Regions from separate parts of the Homo sapiens genome. Here region 1 is linked to region 2. Evidence: promoter capture Hi-C in human tissues and cell types (Jung and others, 2019). All regions are on one chromosome and are shown on one strand. Each heading gives the region's core, a stretch centred on a gene start or on the middle of the fragment in contact. The rest is flanking DNA. Distances are from core to core; before and after follow the strand shown. Region 1 has its middle 29 kb from the start of GAL. Region 2 holds the start of MRPL21 (mitochondrial ribosomal protein L21).

Region 1 (4,565 bases), core at 405-2,904, 250 kb before region 2:
CCACATGTGGAGCGATGACTTCGGGCGCACCTCTGTGCTGCCTCCCACTGGCTTCCCAAACCTCAGGGTGCAGCCTGCCTCTGGAGGCAGGAGCAGGGCCCTGGGCGGCTGGGAGTGGCTGGAACTGGGGACATCACCCACGCAGGTGGCCTGGGACACACTGGATGCGTGAGCCTGGAAAGGGGCCAGGAGGAGGGGTCTCCGCCCTTCTGGGGCAGCCTGAAACTGGCAGATGTGGCAATGCTAGTTCTGTTCCAGACCCCCTCTGTGAAGTGCCGTTTCCATGCTGCCCTCACTGGACCAAGGGCACAGCTGTGGAGGAGTGTGAGCGAGGGATCCCCACAAGGACAAAAGCAGAGACCATCCACTGAAGATGCACCTCCAATCCCTCCTGGTCACGCCCAGCCCCGCGCCCAGGGGCCATCTCAGGAGATGCCCTGGCCAGGCCTCTAACCATATCCGGCTCTTGCAGCCACTGAGTCCAAAGCCACCTGGCTCAGGTCCTGGAATGGCACTGCAGGCTTCTGTGGGTGCCAGTGATGGCAGAGAAGAGGGTCCCCCAATGGCACCTGGACAGCCTGGGCAGATGCTGCCGCCCAGCCTCATGGTCTCTGGTGGGGTGGCCGAGGATGGGTGGTGGGGTGCGCCTCTCTACGCATCAGCCCTAAAAGCCTAAGACGTGGGTCCTAGAAGTCACGCCTCTCCCCAGAAACCCTTCATGGCTCCCTAGTACCACAGGCGCATTCAGCCTCCTCACACGCTGGCCCCAGCCCCCACAGCCCCTCAACTTCCCTCCCCACTTCCCACTACACCCTCTGTGAAAGCCCAGCTCATCTTTCAGGCAGGCCAAACCCAGGTTTGCCGGGTCTGAGCTTATATAATCTGGGGGGCCTCTTTAAGAATAAGAATATAGGCTGCGCACAGTGGCTTATGCCTGTAATGCCAGCACTTTCGGAGGCCCAGGCGGGCAGATCACTTGAGGTCAGGGGTTCAAGGCCAGCCTGACCAACATGGTAAAACCCCCACCTCTACTAAAAATACAAAAATTAGCCGGGCGTGGTGGTGCACTCTTATAATCCCAGTTACTTGGGAGGTCGAGGCAGGAGAATTGTTTGAACCTGGGAGGCGGAGGTTGCAGTGAGCCGAGATCACACCGCTGCACTCCAGCCTGGGCTATGGAGCAAGACTCTGTCAAAAACAAAAAAGAAAAAAGACAAAGAATATAAAATAACTAAGACAAACACAGGCATAGAAGTGAGTATCGCTTAGACTGAGAAATGAAGTCACAGAAAACTACAGATTTTAAAAAGCTGATTAGTGTCATCAACATTACAAAATGTGGAAAAATCACAGTTCTTCTTAGTCACCTGACTCGCTCTACAATACCTGTGCCCCGGTATTTTCGAATGTGTGTACTCATTGTTCATCTCTCATAGGACAAGGACTTTGTTTTATGATTTTCTGCAGAGAGAACAGAAAGATGATATGGCCTCTCCTCCTCCACGATGGATACGAATTTACTTTTCATTATTGATGGTGTAGAGAAAGTTCCTGAAGCTTCACAACCCAATGCTGGTGACGTTGTGTACATTCTTAGGATTGGTATCATTCGGGAAAGCCTCTCCTGAGTTTCTTTTGTGTGTCAGTGTCCACAGATGGGCTCGTTTGTAGTGGGAGCTGCAGTTCCTTGTTCTGCAAACAGGAATTGTGACGAGTTTTGCTTTATTCAGTTCCCATCACAAAAGGAAAGAATGTGCAAAAGTGGGTTTGTGGCCATGATCTGCGTGAGCGAGCGTATTCCTGGCAGGAAAGTGCTTTTGTCTGACTGGGCTGCAGCAGGGGCGGCCCCTCTGCTGACCATCCACATGTCTGCTGATTAGAGGGCGTTCCCATGGGCCAGCTTCAGTTCCATCCATCACCCAGGTTCCTGGGCACCCCTACCTCCATAGCTGGATGCTGTGGGATGGGTCATATACCACATCAGGCCTCACCTTTCTGCATCAAGCCAGCAAATTTGCACCTTGTCCCTAGACAGAGACATTCCCATGTGGGGAGGACCAGTGGCAAACTAACTGCACCAGAAGAGACCTTGAACCACATAGATATACCCCACTGTGGTGAGTTGAATTATATGCTCTAAGAGGACAAGTTCAAGCCCTGCAACTCTATGGAACTGAACTCAGCCAATGACCTGAATCAACTTGGAAGCAGATTCACCAACTGGGCCTCCAGGAAGGAACGCAGCCCGGCCCGTCCCCGGGTTTCAGACACGTGAGACACAAGCTGAGGGCTGATGAGCCCTGCTGCACCCAGACTTCTGACTTGCAGCAGTGACGAGATCATAAATGGGCATTGTTTTACGGCGGGAAAAAACTCTCAAAGCCTAACCCCAGTGCCTGGGAATGTGACCTTCTTTGGAATGGGGTCTTTGCAGAAGTCATCAAGCTAAGATGAGGTTAGATTGGGTGGTGGTGGTAGGTGGGGGGGTCCTAAATCCATGACTTGTGTCCTTCTAAGAGGGAAATGTGGATTTAGGACACAGAGACACAGATACACAGACACGCAGAGGGGAGAAGACCAGGGGGACAGGTGGAGGCTGGAGTGAGGCACCACCGCCATGGAGTGCCAGGCACTGCCACCAGCAGAAGATGGAAAAGGCAGGACACACCCTCACCCCTGGCCCCCTGGTTGTGAACTTCTGGCCTCCAGACTGTGGGAAAATAAATGTCTGTTGTTTTAAGCCACCCAATTTGCGGTCATTTGTTACAATAGCCACAAAAAAATCTCACCCACCCACCCAATCCACACTAAAGGTGTCCCCAGCTCAACCTCCCCTCAGCCAGATCCCACAAATGTTTACAGCCCCTAGTACCACTGCAGCAGAGGGGACCTGAACTCCAGAGCGCAGCCAGCCTACAGTCCTCACCGACTGAACAAAGCGTCTGACTTCTGCAATTTTTGTTTTTTGAGATGGAGTCTCGCTCTGTTGCCAGGCTGGAGTGCAGTGGCACGATCTCTGCTCACTGCAACCTCTGCCTCCCGGGTTAAAGTGATTCTTCTGCCTCAGCCTCCTGAATAGCTGGGACTACAGGTGCACGCCACCACGCCCAGCTAATTTTTGTATTTTTGATAGAGATGGGGTTTCACCATGTTGGCCAGGATAGTCTCAATCTCCTGACCTCATGTTCTGCCTGCCTTGGCCTCCCAAAGTGCTGGGATTACAGGTGTGAGCCACCATGCCCGGCCAACTTCCGCAAATTTTAAATGACTGTGTGGATGCTGCTGGGACCCTCCCAGAAGGGGTGTGTGCAAGAGAGGGGCTCTAAAAATTGAGGTCTCTCAGCCTCCAGGGAAATTGCCAGCCTTTAGAGCTCTGCTTAGTTCACCCAGCCTTCCCCAGGGGGCCTCCGTTCTGGCCCTCTGGGTCCGTCTCTTAGCACTGTGACCTGCGCTGGCTGTAGGACCCTTTCCCTTCCTCCAGGACCCCTGGAACAGGGCTTCCCTGGCAGAGCTCATCATGAGAATCTCCTGGGAGGACCTCAAGGGGCCAGGCCCCATCCTGCTAAGTCAGGGGCAGGGAATGTGGCTCTGAAACCCCCCAGTGGGAGGCTGGGGGCAGCTGTCAGGGGCCCTGCTCACGGCTGGTTGTCAGAGAGGGGACCCTCTCCATGTGGTCTGCCTGCTGGAGGATGGGCCAGAGGCTGGAGGTGCCCAGGATTATGTGCCACTGGGACCCTCCCTAGGATGGGCCCCAGAGACCCTCCCTCCACACAGTTGGACCTCAGGACAAGGGCACAAGCACCTCCTCTCCCAGAGCCGGCAGTGGGGTGAACAAGCCCCGAGCTGCAGCGGCCACCTCATGGTGAGATGTGGGTTGCAGAGTCCAGGCACATCCCTGACGCGCAGTGGGTTCAGCCAGGCAGGCTGAGCCACACCTCTGAGACCATCAGTAGCTCCCACTGGCCAGCAGGTCAGCCAGTAAAGGCCGACACCACAGTTCTTCCTACTCCAGCCCTGACCGAGTGTCTGGGTTCACCTCCACTCGGCAGGAAGCACCCAGATATGTGCCAGGATCAAGCCAGGAGAGAAGGATCAGGTAGTTTTCAGGTTGTTCTCATGTAAAATCCTGTAAACATGGCCAGAAACACGTGACTCTGATAGCTACAGATACACCTTTGATTCTGTAACTGGAGAGAGACAGGCTGGAAGAGGAAACCTCAGGAGGTGATAGGTCCAGACATGCGGCAGGGGAAAGGCAGGAGCGGGAGGAAGAGACGGGAGAGAAAGAGGCATGGTGGGAGGGAAGGCAGCCGACTTGCCGGGAAAGTGGCATAAGTAACAACTGAGGCAGAACTGGAGGAAGACAGAGAAGAGAGGCCCAGAGGAGCAGACAGGGATGCAGGACAGAGGGGAAGAACCCTTCACAGCCACGCATGGATCCAGAGTAGAGCTCAGAAAGCTACGGCCTGTGGGCTGAACTGGCCCGCTGCTTGTTTTCATAAATAAAGTTTTATTGGCACAGGGCCACACTTGTTCATTTCTGTGTTGTCTGTGGCTACTTTCAT
Region 2 (4,576 bases), core at 1,918-4,417:
TTATGATGCTAAATGCACAGCTGCTGCTCCTGGTACATGGTATGAACCACTGCATGACAGCCTGCCCACAGAAACACCTAGGTGAGCAAAACTACAAGAACGTCACTTACAGCTACTGGTTATATGTGTTGAGATCAGTTAGCCACATCATCTACAAGCGCCTGAGACCAGAACCACCCGTCCACTAACTCATGCCTTGACTAAGTGCCTGGTAGGTTCAGACTCTGATCTGTGCCCAAGCGTGGGAGCAGCCTCCAAGATGGCCCTGCTGGGCCCCGCCTCCTGCTATTCTTACCCCTGTTAGCCCCCTGGGAGTGGCCTGTGTGTCCAACAGCTAGTGACAGACATGCTAGCACGTGGCTTCTGGGATGAGGTGATAACCAACTGGGACTTCCATCTTGGATGCCTGTGCTCACCCTTTCTGATCTCTGGCCTTAGGGCTGCCCTGCTGTGAGCAGCCCTACCTAGAGGTCCACATGGCGGGGAACTAGGCCTATCGCCAACACCCATGGGAACGACCTTGCAGGTAGATTCTCCAGCCGCTGGCGCAGTGGAGTCTTGAGATAACTACAGCCCCTGCAGACTTGCTTGCTGCAAGCTAAGACCCTGAGCCAGAACCAGCCACTTAAGCTGCTTCTGTGTTCCTGGCTCTCAGAACTGGTGTGAGTTAATAAATGTTTTAAGCTGCTAAGTTTTGGGGTAATTTCTGATGTAACCGTAGATAACGCATACACCAGGAATACACCAGGAAACAAAGACATTCAATCTACTGAGAAGACAGGGGATCAAAATAAGTGCTTAGGTGTAAAAAGCAGAGAACAGTTTCTCAATAACCACTTTTAAAGAAACTCAGCTATAATTTACACACCATAAAAACCACCTTTTTAAAGTTCACCCATTAGCACCAGCTCCCCATTTGCATCTCCTCGGCTGCTTTCTCCTCTCCTCTCCCATTTGGGCATCCGGGGCTCAACCCTTGGCCTTGACCTCCTCTCCGCCCATGGCCATTCCTCTGGTGACTGCATCCAGTCCGATGGATTTAAACACCCCCAATGTGCTGGTGACTCCCAAGTTTACACCTCCAGCCAGGGCTTCTCTCCTGGTTTTGCATACCCACCTATCTATCTGCCTTAGCCACTCGTGTCTGACGAGCACCTCACACCTCCAGAGGCTCCTCATTTCTTCCCATGCCTGCTTCTCCCACACTCCTCCCTCTCACATGAGGGCAACTTCATCCTCCCAGTTGCTCAGGCCCCAAACCTCCATCAGTTTTGACTCTTCTCTCGCACACTACTCAGTCAACCCATTGGCAAATCCATCCCACTATTAAAAACTTAGCAGGCTTCTGTACCTAATTTGCTTCTAGCTTTGTTTTTGGGTCCCCAGGGAACAAACAGTCTCCTTCCTCTCCCACAGGATTTCCTTTAGGTAGTCCTAGAGACTGTGACTGTGTACTTCCATCACGTCTCCTTTGCTCACTCTTCAAGGCCCCAGCTGCTCACTGTTTTGGTCACCTTGTCTCTACTCGCTTCACTGTGTGTCTTTCTCTCCTAATGCGTGAGTCTGTACTTGAACATAGCATTGGAGGGGTGGTTTCATGTAGGTAGGTAGAATGGAGTAAGTCCCACTGCTTTTGTAAAAACTTTCCTGCCTACTTAAACCTAAGTTTTATTATGGAAAATGTCAAGCATACAAAAGTAAAGAGAACAGAATAGTGAACTCTCTCAATTATCCCTTTCCAGGTTCAACAGTTACCAACTCATGGCCAATTTTGGCATCTACATTGCCTCTGGCCCAACTCTGTGATTATTATTAATTTCTTAATAGACTTTATTTTTTAGCACAGTTTTAGTTTCACACCAAAATTGAGTGGAAGGTACAGAGAGTTCCCATATGTCCCCTGTCCATGTGCCCACAGCTTCCTATCAACATCCCTCACCAGAGTGGTACAATCTTTACAATTGATGAACCTACATTGACACATCATTGTTATCCAAAGTCCATAGTCTACATTAGGGGTTCACCCTTGGTAGTGTACATTCTATGGATTTGGACAAACTTATAATGACATGTATCTACCATTATATCATACAGAATAGTTTCACTGCCCTAAAAATCCTCTGAGCTCCACCTATTTATCCTTTTCTCCCCCAATCCTCTTACCCCCCATGTAACTTTTTACTGTCTCCTTAGATTTGCCTTTTCCAGAATGTCATAGTGGGAAACATACAAGATGTCCCCTTTTCAGGTTGGCTTCTTTTACTTAGTAACATGTATGTAAGTTTCCTCCATGTCTCTTCATGACTCATTTCTTTTTATTGCTGCATAATATTCTACTGTATGGATGTCCTACAGTTTATGTAACCATTCATCTCCTGAAGGACATCTGGGTTGCTTCCAAGTTTTGGGAATTATGGTACTATTCTTTTAATATCGTCCAATATAGAGTTAGATCCAGTTTTCCATTTTTGGGGGTCATGGTGAGACATGAAACCCAGGTTTAAAACATACATAAACACTCATGCACACAAATACACACTCCAACCATTTTCAAGCAGAGATTTATAGAGTTTTTAACGGACATAACCTTTTTGGAGCCTCGTATCAGCCCAGCGCCTTAAATACGGCTGTTTCTTTTGCAGAATGAGTTCAGATTAGGCGAGGATATCCATCACCATTTTTCAGACCAGCTCGCAGCCTGGGGGCAGTGGTTCAAGCACAGGCTTTGGAGCCGAAATGACTGCGCCTGAAGTACTCTTCTTCCACTTCCCCGCTGTGTGACCCTGGGCACGTTACCTAGCTCCTCTGAGCCTCACTCTTCTCCCCCATAACATAGGGCCTATACCAAAGTTCAAGGGCTATTGTCAGTATTCAGGCTACTAACTGAAGGAATCAAAATCTGAACCTGGGTTCCCCCGACTCCAAAACCCGTGCTATATTCACCACAAATGCGATCAACACACAAGGCACCAGGTCGGACCCAGGCACATACGTGGCGAGACCGCAGGGAGCAGCGCTCGCTCTGCGTCCTCCCTTCCTCCCATATCCCAGGTCTCACCTGCTCCGGGCCCCGAAGGTCTCAGGATGCTGTGGCTGCACGCGGACGCCAGCCGCCCTAAGGTGACCGTCAGGGAAGATGCTGCCATGGCCGCAGCCTCGGCCGGAAACGGAAACGACGCGAACCGCGTGCGTAACGCACGGGCCCGGCGGGGAACACCGGTCCGCTGTAACACCGGCCCGGCGCAGAAGCGGGACGTCGGCTTCTAGGGGCCCAGGCCGGCGGCGGCGATGGCCTCGGCAGCTGTGGAGAGCTTCGTGACCAAGCAACTGGACCTGCTGGAGCTTGAGAGAGACGCGGAGGTGGAGGAGCGCAGGTACGGGAGGCCGCCGGCGCCGCTCCCTCGCGGTCGGTCCCGCCGTGTCCCGGGCAGAGTCTCCGAGGGGCTCGGCCTCATAGTCTGGGGCGGGAATTTCGTCTCCGACCCTTCGAGTCAGGGGCAGGGATCGTCCGTCCCCTGCTTGGCCACCTCCCGAGTTGTCAGTCTCATCACTTCCTGGGCAGCGCGTTCCGTTTGGGGACCCTTAAGAAGCACTTTGATTTCCCGACCCGAGACCCCCCACTAAGCTTACACTCCTGGGCCCTGGCCCCGACCCCAGTTCCACCCGCAGCGAGTTAGCAGCCCTTTCCCTTATTCATTCAGTAAACATGGTTTGCGCCCATTCTCAGTCAGGCCCCGGCAGCATGAGTCAGGTGCACTGGCTGCCCCCGATCCGGCCAGCGGCGGGCTGGGCATAAGCAGAGAGTCCCTTCCCCTCCAGTGCGTCCAGGGCCGGCTGCGTGCGTGTCGCGGGGAAAGAGCCTGGAGGAGGAAGGCCCTTCCCTGGGGAGGGTCATGGTGGCTTCAAGGAGGGAGTGGTGCCTGAAGGAAAATTGGAGTTAAGCTGGTGGGTGCGGAGTAGGGTGGGGAGCCGTCCTGAGAGGTGTGGGGAGCCATGTGAGAGCCGGGCTTGTTTCCGAATGGGACTATTTACTTGTCCAAAACAATCAGAGCTAACACTTACGTACTTTCCATGCGTTAATTCTTTTACACCTCATCCCATGCCAACCCTACAGTGTAAGTTTCTTTTTTTTCTTTTTCTTTTTTTTTTTTTTAGACAGAGTCTCTCTCTGTCGCCCAGGCTGGAGTGCAGTGGCACGATCTCGGCTTACTGCAGCTTCCATCTCCCGGGTTCAAGCGATTCTCCTGCCTCAGCCTCCTGAGTGGCTGGGACTACAGGCGCGCCACCACGTCCTGCTAATTTTTTGTATTTTTAGTAGAGACAGGGTTTCACCATGTTGGCCAGGATGGTCTCGATCTCCTGACCTCGTGGTCTGCCCGCCTTGGCCTCCCAAAGTGTTGGGATTACAGGCGTGAGCCACCGTGCCCGGCCGCAGTGTAGGTTTCTGTTACTGTCATTTTCCGTCTAAGGAGATGGAGACAGAGAGGGGTTAAGTAACTTGCCCCGGGGTGACACAGTGTAGCCCGATTTGCTGTCAGGCAGTCTGCTTCCAGAGTTTGCAGTCAGCCATATGTGG

Evidence for each region. Contacts are between HindIII fragments. The study calls those that stand out against the background at their distance.
Region 1: a contact is called between a fragment that was not itself captured here and the fragment with the promoter of MRPL21 in region 2, in 1 of the 25 tissues and cell types used here (IMR-90 fibroblasts).

The regions. Positions count from the first base shown.
Region 1 is chr11:68,653,745-68,658,309 of GRCh38, forward strand. No RefSeq gene overlaps it. Among named protein-coding and RNA genes, the nearest start is that of GAL, 29 kb to the right of the region's middle. The HindIII fragment of the contact is 5,786 bases long and covers 1-4,547 here.
Region 2 is chr11:68,900,665-68,905,240 of GRCh38, forward strand. MRPL21 (mitochondrial ribosomal protein L21) reads right to left here and starts at 3,168. Exons shown (of 7, transcript NM_181514.2): 1 at 3,059-3,168. The coding sequence starts at 3,146. IGHMBP2 (immunoglobulin mu DNA binding protein 2) reads left to right here and starts at 3,227. Exons shown (of 15, transcript NM_002180.3): 1 at 3,227-3,374. The coding sequence starts at 3,289. RefSeq lists enhancers at 3,041-3,768, 3,200-3,319, 3,650-3,709. The HindIII fragment of the contact is 6,843 bases long and covers 1-4,576 here.